Linked DNA regions of Homo sapiens: all the other regions are linked to region 2. Evidence: promoter capture Hi-C in 16 types of primary human blood cells and fetal thymus (Javierre and others, 2016). All regions are on one chromosome and are shown on one strand. The core of a region is centred on a gene start or on the middle of the fragment in contact, and the rest is flanking DNA. Distances in the headings are between cores, read along the strand shown. Region 1 overlaps SLC1A3-AS1 (SLC1A3 antisense RNA 1). Region 2 holds the start of HMGCS1 (3-hydroxy-3-methylglutaryl-CoA synthase 1). Region 3 overlaps LOC124900962 (a long non-coding RNA gene).

What was found. The method cuts DNA at HindIII sites, captures the fragments that hold promoters and counts their contacts. A CHiCAGO score of 5 or more calls a contact.
Region 1: a fragment that was not itself captured here is called in contact with the fragment with the promoter of HMGCS1 in region 2 in 1 of 17 cell types (total B cells); the score reaches 5.5 in total B cells.
Region 3: a contact is called between a fragment that was not itself captured here and the fragment with the promoter of HMGCS1 in region 2, in 2 of 17 cell types (total CD4 T cells and naive CD8 T cells). The highest score is 8.8, in total CD4 T cells.

What each region holds. Positions count from the first base shown.
Region 1 is chr5:36,721,777-36,725,120 of GRCh38, forward strand. SLC1A3-AS1 (SLC1A3 antisense RNA 1) reads right to left here. Exons shown (of 2, transcript XR_007058736.1): 1 at 3,338-3,344. Among named protein-coding and RNA genes, the nearest start is that of SLC1A3-AS1, 1.7 kb to the right of the region's middle. RefSeq lists enhancers at 1,990-2,039, 2,050-2,099, 2,140-2,409. The HindIII fragment of the contact is 2,087 bases long and covers 709-2,795 here.
Region 2 is chr5:43,311,535-43,315,184 of GRCh38, forward strand. HMGCS1 (3-hydroxy-3-methylglutaryl-CoA synthase 1) reads right to left here and starts at 1,878. Exons shown (of 11, transcript NM_001098272.3): 1 at 1,822-1,878. RefSeq lists enhancers at 1,648-1,787, 2,038-2,267, 2,274-2,790, 2,791-3,305, 3,400-3,650. The HindIII fragment of the contact is 3,835 bases long and covers 1-2,594 here.
Region 3 is chr5:36,242,353-36,246,110 of GRCh38, forward strand. All of the region lies in intron 1 of LOC124900962 (a long non-coding RNA gene), which reads left to right. Among named protein-coding and RNA genes, the nearest start is that of NADK2, 2.3 kb to the left of the region's middle. RefSeq lists an enhancer at 1-97. The HindIII fragment of the contact is 1,971 bases long and covers 276-2,246 here.

The DNA.
Region 1 (3,344 bases), core at 502-3,001, 6.6 Mb before region 2:
CTTGCTATTTTCTCTCCAGAAGAGGAAGTATGAGGTTGTGTGAAAATGTGAGCATGTGTGTCCCCTAAGATACCTTTCCACGCTTCTTTCCCCTTGCCCCAGCCAAAAGGTCATCCAAGGAAGTTGGGGGATAATCAGGCCCAGAGGTGCCCTGGACCAGACGTCCCATGATCTAGCATACGCAAAGGAAGACGCTAAGAAAGTACACATGGAGAAGACGAGGGATACAGGGTGTTTCTTTCCAATCTCTCTGCTTCTTCCAGCAAAAGCCCCACCCTCTAGCCCTCAAGCCTGCTGGCCTCATGGAGTGTAACTAATCCACAGCAGCATCCCTCCTTCTGGGGACACAGTGTTGGGTAAGGAAGTGTAGGGGAGCCAGAGTCTTTGAAACCTTATCAGCCTAAAATCTCAGGGTTACACACAAGTCAGAGGCACTTTCTGTCACCCCTCCTTCTGACCCTGGTCCCACCATTCTCTCAGGTGGAACGCTCCCACCATGCTCTCCCCCTCTATGTCCCACATTAGTCCAAATGTTTCCTTCACGTCATCTCTCATGTCTATAGCTTTCCACATTCGCAGATTCCACCCTAATTCACATACCAAGATTATTACCAGAGACTCTGTTACTGGATTCCTTGACTTTCCCATCAATTATTCTATCTCTCTCCTTCCAAATGACTATCCCTAAGTATCATTGTCTTTGTGCCAAGCTTAGGTACCAACCTTCTGTAGTTCTCATAACCTACAGATTATGATGCAAGGAACTATTAATAGCACAGATTCTGGAGCCAGTCTCCTGGAGCTCCAATCCTGGTTCTGCCACTTATTAACTCTGTTACTTTAGGCAAGTTACTTAACCTCTCTGTGCTTCAGCGTCCACCTCCTAAAATAAGATAAGATAGTAAATACCCCATAGGATTGATCCGAGGATTAAACAAGTTAATACAGAAGTGTCTAAGCAACCAGGAACTGGTAGCTATTATCACTCTTGTTACCGAATGTGGTCCCAACTTCTCAGCCCGGCATCTATTGGTGCATACAGTCAGTACTCTGAAACTACACTCTTGAAATTGTAGATGCTATCCTAGGGGTCGCTAGTAGCTTCTAAAACAAATTAGAAGCCCACTTAAGGTGATAGTCATGGTGGCCAATGAGTCATTCTCTGCTCTCACAGAGTAAAGATTTAATTTGAACTAAGAACCTTAGAAGAAATACAGAAAGCGGGCGAGGAGAGGTGGTTTTTCCCCTCTGCTGTTCCTGGGGACACATGTGATGCTCTGAGAAGGCAGAAGGGAAGATTCGAGCTGATTATAATCTAATGAGGCTGCCAAATCAGTTTCACTTTCCAATACCACATAAGGACTGGTGAGTCTCATGGGCCCTGAGCCAGGATTATTTTAACTGGTAGCATTAGCTGGGTCAGACCGATCAGCCTCTATGGGGAATACTTTGGGAACTGTCATCTTCCAAGCCAGCGCAAGAACAGCCTCTGCCACTGAACTGATGGTGATACACACGGTATTTGGAGGGCAAATCTGATTCACATGCAGTAGCAGGAGATGGAAGAGTGGTTAAAATGAAAGGGAGAGGAGAAGAAGAGCAAGGGACGAGCATAATACAGGGAAAGAAGAATAATACAGGTAGAATAGGAATTACATAGAAGGGAGAAGATCATTTTTTAAAAAAAATAAGGGCCAGGCATGGCAGCCTATAATGGTAGGCAGCACTTTGGGAGGCCATGGCTGGAGGACAGCTTGAGGTCAGGAGTTTGAAATCAGCCTGGGCAACATAGCAAGACCCCCATCTTGACAAAAAATACAAAAGTTAGCCAGATGTGGTGGAACACACCTGTAGTCTCAGCTACTCAGGAGGCCGAGGCAGGAGGATCACTTGAGTCCAAGGGTTTGAGGCTGCAGTGAGCTATGATCATGCCACTGCACTCCAACCTGGGTGACAGAGACCTTGTCTCTAAAAAGTAAAGAAATGAAATAGAAAATAAAAACGAATGGTAGAAATAAAAGGAACTGAGTAGTAGGGGGCAGAGGCATGTCTAGGGGAGAGAACTAGAACTGCCAAGGGATTTGAGTGCCTGATGGATTCTGAAGACTGAAATATACATGACCCCAAAAAGCAATGTCATTTGTAAATATTTGTTAATGAGTTTAGTGAAGTGCTACATGGAGGAATGATCTAGCCAATGAGAACAATGTGCACCAGCCAGTTGGATTCTTGAAGCTGCAGAGACTTCATCTTCAGCCACAGCAGGTGGCTGAGGGCTAGAGTTACTTGGGACTTTCCCCAATGCTCTAGTTCCTTCTATCTCTTGGAAACAAGTCTGGCTCAATATGTTCAGCAGCCCCATTGATGTTGCCCAGAGGAAGTGTGGATCAGGGCTCGCTGACCCCAAGGTTAGCAGCAGAAGAGCAGGGCCTCTGCCTCCCCAGCCAGGAAGCCCACAGTCTTGGCCACATGAATGAAGGAGGTCTTGGCAGCATCTGACACACCTCGGGGTAATGATTTAGCCACCCCAAATTACCGTGTCTCCACAAAATAGTCACTTGGGGCCACACTACATTGTGGAGAGATAATGAAAGAGCTTCTATTTTTGAGCTATCTTTTCCTCATATGCGAATAATTTCACACACAAAAAAATGAGAAAACCACTTCTCTCTGTCACCTACAGAATCAGGAACAGGGATCAGATTATCTTTTAGATACCCGCCCCAAAAAGAAATAAAAATCAAGAAAACATGGGTAAATACCATGGTGGACATTTAAATGAAGCTGAGAAAGAAAGCTTTCTCTATTTAGAGAAGAATTCAAAATGGATGGCAGGAGATTTGTTGAAAATAAGGAAGAGGGAGGGAAAGGTTAGTAAATAATAGGTCAAATCTTCAGCCTAGAGGGCACTACTAAGTTTTCTTTTGTTCCCCCTTAGGTTTCCTGGTGTAGCAGTGCAGTTGCAACGTAGTTTTGTTTTTTGGGTTTCTTTAAACCTAGAGTGGTAAGAGGGACTTGGTGGCGATGGACTGCCATGGGTCGGTTCCTTAGAGGGCTCTTGAGTTTTTCCCACCTGTCTCCAACTCCAGGGCCACCACTCTAATAAAGCCACTGCCATCTCTGACCAGCTCCCCTGCTGTGGCTTTCACTCTTGCTCTCTTTACAGCCCATTCCACACAGCAGCAGCCAGCATGGCACTTCCCGTTCTGGGCCCCTCCCACTGACTGCACCCTGTGCTTGTCCTTCATAGTGTGTAAAGATCTGTATGTGGGGTGATTTGACTAACGGTTCTCTCCCCTTAAGTATAAGTAAACCTATGAGGGCAAGGACTGCTTACCTTAGCA
Region 2 (3,650 bases), core at 628-3,127:
TCTCCAGCTACATCTCATATCCAATTCCACTGGATTATGGAAGATCCAACCAGGTTTTAAATGATTCTAGAGGACACAGGAAACTGATGTTACAACAATATCGGGTTTTTGCGTTTATTTCTTCTGAGAAAAGCTATCTAAAATCTAAGTCAAAATCTCAAAATCAATCCACAGTTAAAAGAAACAAGATGTAAAAGCAATCTGGAGGGATATTTAAGATGAAAAACAAAATTAAAACAAGGCCCAAATGATGTGGCCTATGGCTCCAAACATAAAATATCCTTTTACACTCCCTCCCCACAGCGTAAGTCAGACCTTCTGAGTGCTGGGGTTACTGATGATTATACTAGAATTGAGCTGAACTAAAGTAGAACCGAATAAAGGGCAAACTTACAAACTTAGGTGAGAAATATCTACAAAGGTAGACACAAAGAAAGCCTTTCTCTCTTCCCATAAGGTATGCTATCCCTGCCCCCTTCTTCACACAAAAATAACTGCAATTTTAAAATAAAGTTTAAAGAACACAAGCTGCTTAGGTGTCTCAAGTGCAAAGAACTACTGACACGGATAATGTTAACGACTTTCAACTGCCTCTCATCTAATAGTATCTGTGCAATAAAGTCCAAAACACATCTCAGAAGGAAAAATCTGTTAACTCTAGGAGCACTTCCATTTGTCTTAATTTTGTTGTTTATCTTGTCATTGTTTTTCATATTCATGCCTAAAACAGAGCAAATGTTAGTTAGCAGCAACCAGAACACATCATCCTACTGCAGCAGGTGGCAAGAGCATCCTCGGGAAGGTGGGGAGCTGCAGCAGAGGTGAGCAGTGAAAGCAGCTACTGATGCCTTAAGGCTAAGGCCATAGGGACAAGCATGACAAACAGGCACAACCTCACATTATTTGTTCCCCAAATCCCTCCTCCAGAGTGGATCAGAATAATCGTTTCTCTACCACTGGTCAAGGCCAGACGTGGGTTTTCAAAGACTCCATATACTTGCTTTGAAATATCCTTAGCTTAATCCAAAACCTATTTGTGGGAGGACTCTGTGAGTGCCTGCCCATTACACTGTATCACCTAAAGCTGGTCCCGAAGGTATTAGTAGGAGAGAGATGTGGGATTTCAGAACACCAAGGAAGCCTATTTTTTAAAACGTAGACAAAAAAAAATATGGAGGCAGGAAGGCGGGAGGCAGTGATCTATGAGATTTGAAGCAAGTACAGACTGAGCCCCAGTACTTAGCCAGGTCTAAATCACGGTTGTGAACGCTTTCTTGCACCTGAGCTGAGGAAGAAAAGTAATGCTACCCACTTCCCTTCTTTCCATCAACTCTATATGTGGCAGCAGGACACACCCCCTGCGAACCTACCAGCCTCCGTCTAAAGAGGATCTTGCCCATCCTTTGGCGTCCACCCTTAACCAACGCTCTGGAAACGCCTTGGTAGCCCAACTGTCTTCTCTCCCCCTCCTGACACCCCCCACTCACCTCTAGGCGGTCACAGCTGCCTCTCTGGCACCTCCAACTCCTCTGTCGTTAGAATACCTAGACCTCAACGCCCTCTCGCGTTCTCCCCTCCGCGACTCGCCTGTGTTCTCGGATCTTCTCAGATCCGCTACGGTCGGCCTCAGGTCCCTCACGAGGGAACCCCCGCCCGGCCCCGCTCACGGTGCCCCATCCTCCCGGGCAAAGTCCACGCCTACGTCCTGACCCAGAGCCCCAGCTCCTTCGGGCCTAGTCAAGGACACCGCCTCTGTCTGGCCCACACCCCGCCCGCGGCACCTCCGCAGCCCAGTTCTACTCCCCAGCGCGGGACACTCACCAAGCGTGACCGAGCGGCAGCAGAGGAAAGGGAGTGAGCCACGAAAGGACAGTCCGCGGCGCCTCCCCTTCGCCACCAGCTTTATAGCCGCCAACCCACCCGACTCCGGCACCGCCGAGAGTCGCTGGGAGGCGGGACGGTGGCTCCCACAGCCAATCGCGGCCGGTAGAGTTGCCCGGCAGCGCCCGCCCCCCAGTCCGGCTTCTACCAATCAAAAGGAAACTAGAGGCGATGACTCGCTAGGATTTTCCCTCGTGGCTGGAAGGGCGGGGAGAAGAGGCGGGGACAAAGTCTCAGGGCCGAGGAAGTGGTGTGAGAGACTGACGTGAGGTGGCACGAGAGCCCAGTTGCCAATGACGGAGCTGCGAGATACGGCGAGAGCCAACGGGAGCGGAGTGAGAGGTTCTCCGACCAATTGGGACTAAGTGAGAGGAGATGCGGGCCAATGGGTACTCCGCGTCCCACCGCTGGAGAGATGGTCAAATGTGGGAGGCGAGGTGGTCCCAGCTTGGGAGTCTGTCAGGTTGCCTAGCAACCAGAACTAGGCTTCACCTGAAAGATTTCTGAAATACTGTACTTGATTTGAATTCAGTCTTAACGTTTTCTAGCAAAGTGTGCGTAGATTGCAAATTGGAGCAGAATACTTCACCCAGAACTTGTATATGTGTAAATAGTCTAAATACCCGATTTGTAAATACTCAAATATTGTCTCCTTTATTCAAAACTACCTTGACTTAAAGAAAACAGAACAAACAAAAGTGCTCTTGAGACAAAGCTTTCTAACTAAACCTAAAACAAAATGGTTTCAGGATTAGGCATCCGTGGGGAGGGTGCAGAGCCTTGCCTGTGAAGGGAAGTTGATACTGAATTCAAGGATTTTTGCCAGGCCATGCACTCTGAGGAAAGGGACTCCATTTGGCCTGTTGCCCACTGTATCTTCTAAGCTTCATATGTGGTACCTGCCAAGTAAAAGGCTGTGGAAAGGCCACGTAATTGTCGGCATAGTAAATCCATCGGATACGGACTGCCTAACTCCCCCAGCAAATAGAGAGGAGCAATTCAAGCTAGAGGAATTCACTGAAACACTATTTGGGGGAATCCAAAGGAGGACACTTGTGGCTTTGCAATAAACTCTGCCTCTATCTGGTCAGAGAGAGAAGCCATAATACTTAGCTTTGGTGGGGGACCATGAGTGAGGTTCGGAGTTGTTTGTATCTCTCCCCATCTCAATTTAATTAACAGGAATGCTATTGATAAGGGGTCATTGGTAATTCTGTGATTCACACAATTATTGTTATGGGAGATTCTTTTAACCACTATAGATGCTAACCTAGTAAGACACATTCTCAGCAGCAAAGTGGCAAAATATATTGGAAATGGAACCACTGTGAAGTGGTGGCATAAATGACTTGGGGGAAGAGGACCACTCAGTAATGATTTCCATTCCACAGTATTGCCCATGACTCACTTCATATGTATGTAAAGTAACTAGATAGTAAACAGAGAGAGAGACATTGCCTGATTATGATCAACAGCAATTTGGGGTGGGGTAGGAGATTAAAATTCTTGGCATATTGGAATATGCTGAAAGGCAGTAAGGACAAACACAAGAAAGAAGATACAGTTTTGTCGTTAGGAATCGCAAATAATTCCAACTCCAGGAGTACATAATGGGAAATGATTAGCCAGACGGTCATGAGAATGACCATCTTACACAACCGGAAATTTCTACAAGGAACAGACCGTCTTTTTGATCACGTTAATCTTCAATTAAGCAAAGTGAGCATGATTATTGATTACTGGGAAGCCAAGCAATGGAGAACAAAAAG
Region 3 (3,758 bases), core at 11-2,510, 7.1 Mb before region 2:
TGGCGGGAAGGCAGGTTCCTGGCATATGCTCGCTTGGGTTCTGTTCTGCAGGCCGACCACGTGCCCATTGGTTTATTTGACCAGGGTCGGTGTGATAGCTGGTGTGTCTGGGGCCGGGCTGGGGGCTGAGGAGGCGGACCCGGCTCCTGCTGCACCGTGTGCGTGGCTTGGCACGAAATCCTCTCGGCGTGGGACCCAGTGCCCGCCCCGCTGCCCCCTGCCCCCCCGAAGAGCCCTACCTATAGGACAAAGTCCAAATGAATTAGTTCTTTGAAAGCTTTTAACTGGAAAGGAGTGAGTTAAAGCAATGTTTGATGACTATTGATCTGGCTTTGGAATCTTGGGTAGCTTGGGAGGCAAGAAGAGGAGGAAGGGATGCTGTTGGGATAATGACCCGTGGAGTGATCAGGACCTGGGCTGGGGTGTGACGAGAACAGAAGGAAACGTCCCATTGTAAGGGGAGAACCACATGGCAGTGCACATCCTGCTGTTCAATTCCGCAGCTCCTTAGATCCCCTTCCCCTGGCACTGTGTTTGCTCCTTTGTAGTCCTGGCGCTACGTCGCTTCTGGACTTTGGGCAGGTTACCTCATCTTTCTGGGCCTCAGATTCCTCATCTGTAAAAAGGGGGTTAGGGTGACCCCAAGGTTCTACCAAGTCCAAATCGATTCAGTGAATCTATGACTCTCCTCACGGGCCCACCAGCACCAGCGTTCATTCGTGGGTTCCCGCGGTGTGCCTGCTGTGTGCCAGGTAGTGTATTGGACTGGGAGCATACACAATGAAGCCCGATAGGTGTTTACTTGGTAAAGTTCTACCACTGACCCGTTCTCACCAAGAACTTTCCCTCACAGCAGCTGCTAATAGTGACGTGTAGTGTAACAACCTTAATAACCTGAGCTTCTAGAGGTAACATCTATAACTATCCTCAGACTCCTTTGTAGTCTTACTATTTTAAACTTCATTAGCATTAGGAAGGAAAAAAAAAAGGGAGAAATCACAGATGACGCTTAGGTTTGAGGCCAGGGTGAACAGGGGAATGTTAATTGATCCATTCGATAGAGAAAAAAAAATGCGTAGGGAGAAACTGTTTGGGATCAAAGTCTGAGTTTTGTTGCTCATATTTGAAATCTCGGACCTCATTTCTTCCCATTTCACAGATAAAAACCCAGATTTTTGACTCTCATTTCAGCTGCAAACATATACATTGACATCTCAGTTGGAATAGCCCTTTGTCCATAGTTATTTTGCGTCTCATCTTCCACCTCCTCAAAAATAGTGTTTCTGAAGGCATCCTCTCACAGGTATCTTGAATTTTCCCTCCCAAATGAGTTTGCCTCTTCAGTATTTAAATATGCTCATGTCTATGACATCTTTAAAATTTTTCTAAAAAAACAAAACAACCTCTAAGCCTTTGTTTTTACATATTGCCTGCCTTACCTTTACAGCTGATTCTCGAAAGAGTAGTCTGTTCATCATTGCCACATCCCTGCCTCCTAGTCATTCCTCAACCTGTTGTACACTAGCTTCTCCCCACTACTTTGCTAATTACTGCTGTTTCCAAGGTGACCAAAAGATCTTGTTGGAACTCAAAAGACTTTTTTCAGTTCTTTAATTGATTGATCTTTCCAAAGAATTTGAAATGGTTATCATTTCTTCTTGAAATCTTTTACTGTCTCCCAACATACCAGTCCCTAACAGTGTTTCTCCCATCTCTATGTCCCTTTTTGACTTCTTCCTAAACCCATCTCCAAGATGTCTTCTGTCCTCGTCTCCTTGTCTCTTCTTCTCCGTCTTTTTTCCTTCTCTCTCTCTCTCTCTGTCACACACACACGCTCCTGAGTTCATTCAGTGTTGTGTAATGGAAGGATCTTGGTTCAAATCTCAGTTTTATTGTTTATTAGCTTTGTGAAACTTGAACTGGTTGTTTAACCTTCCTGAGACTACTTCTGCATTTATAAAATATAATTGCTACCTTGTAAAATTGTGAATATATGCACAGATGCTTAGCACTGTGCCCATTACACAGTAGACACTTGGCAAATATTAGCCCCTTTCATGACCTCAGCTATTACTGGCATCTTTAGCCCAGATCTTTCTCTTGAATTTCCAATCCTTATCTAGTTTCCTTTTAGATAATGTCTCTTAAATCTTACACATGTAACACACATTCGTGGAGATTAAATTAAATTTGAGTGTCACTGTAGGCCAGGCATCCTGCTAGGTGCTACAGATGAAATGATAAAAAGCTTCCATGCCCTTGAGGAGCCTAAAGTCTATGCAGTGATAGAGTTATACACAGAATGCTGAGAAATTTGGAGGAGCAAGTCTCAAGTCAACCTAACAAGAGTTAGAGAAGGCTTTTTGGGAATGTGAAGAGCTAAGCCTTAAGTAATGAATTCAATATTAGCCATTATCAGCAAGAATGAGAAGGAAATTCCACAGAAGAAACACCATGAACAAATGCATAGAAGCAATGAACTAGCAATTTTGAAATTTTAGAGAATTTAGAGAGAGGCAGGCAACATGGGGAAGTGAGGCTAGAGAGGTAGACAAGGGTAAAGACAATGGAAAATGTTAAATCCATGCTTAGGAACCTGCCTTTTATCCTGCATATATTAGGAGGCAACCAAAAGGAGAAAATGACATGATTAGCTTTGCAAAAATTGTGAATTTTTTTTTTTTTGAGATGGAGTTTCGCTCTGTCGTCCATACTGGAGTGCAGTGGTGCAATCTCAGCTCACTGCAACCTCCGCCTCCCGAGTTCAAGGGATTCTCCTGCCTCAGCCTCCAGAGTAGCTGGGACTACAGGTGCGTGCCACCAGGCCTGGCTAATTTTTTGTATTTTTAGTAGAGACAGGGTTTCACCATCTTAGCCAGAATGGTCTCGATCTCCTGACCTCATGATCCACCCACCTCGGCCTCTCAAAGTGCTGGGATTACAGGTGTGAGCCACTGTGCCCAGGCGTGAGCAGGAATTTTTTAGAAGAAACACAAACAGTGAATAAATACTTGAAAAGATAACCTTATTGGAAATTAGAGAAATACAAATAATGTCATTGTGAAATAATATTTTATATCCACTAGATTGGTAGAAATTAAGAAATCTTGGTAACACTCTGTTAGAAAACTTATCCATATCAAGTCTTGATTAGGCTAAACATTAGCTAATCATTTCAATAATTCTTCCTTCCAGTGCCATAGTTTACAAATATCTTTTTTTTTTTTTTTTCCTGAGACAGGGTCTTACTCTATCCCCTAGGCTGGAGTGCAGTGGCACTGCACCGCATGGCTCACACAGCTGCAACCTCCCAGGCTCAGGCAATCCTCCTACCTCAGCCTCCCAGGTAGCTGGGATTACAGATGCGTGTCACCATGCCCTGCTAATTTTTTTTTTTTTTTGAGATGGAGTCTCGCTCTGTCACCCTGGCTGGAGTGCAGTGGCACCATCTCGACTTACTGCAACCTCCGCCTCCCGGTTTAAGCAATTCTCGCCTCAGCCTCTCGAGTAGCTGGGATTACAGGTGCATGCCACAACGCCTGGCTAATTTTTGTATATTTAGTAGAGACGGGGTTTCACCATCCTGGCCAGGCTGGTCCTGAGAACTCCTGACCTCATGATCCGCCTGCCTCGGCCTCCCAAAGTGCTGGGATTACAGGCGTGAGCCACCACGCCCAGCCACCCTGCTAATTTTTAGAAATTTTTGTAGAAATGGGGTGTTGTGCAATGTTCCCCGGGCTGGTCCTGAACTCCTGGGC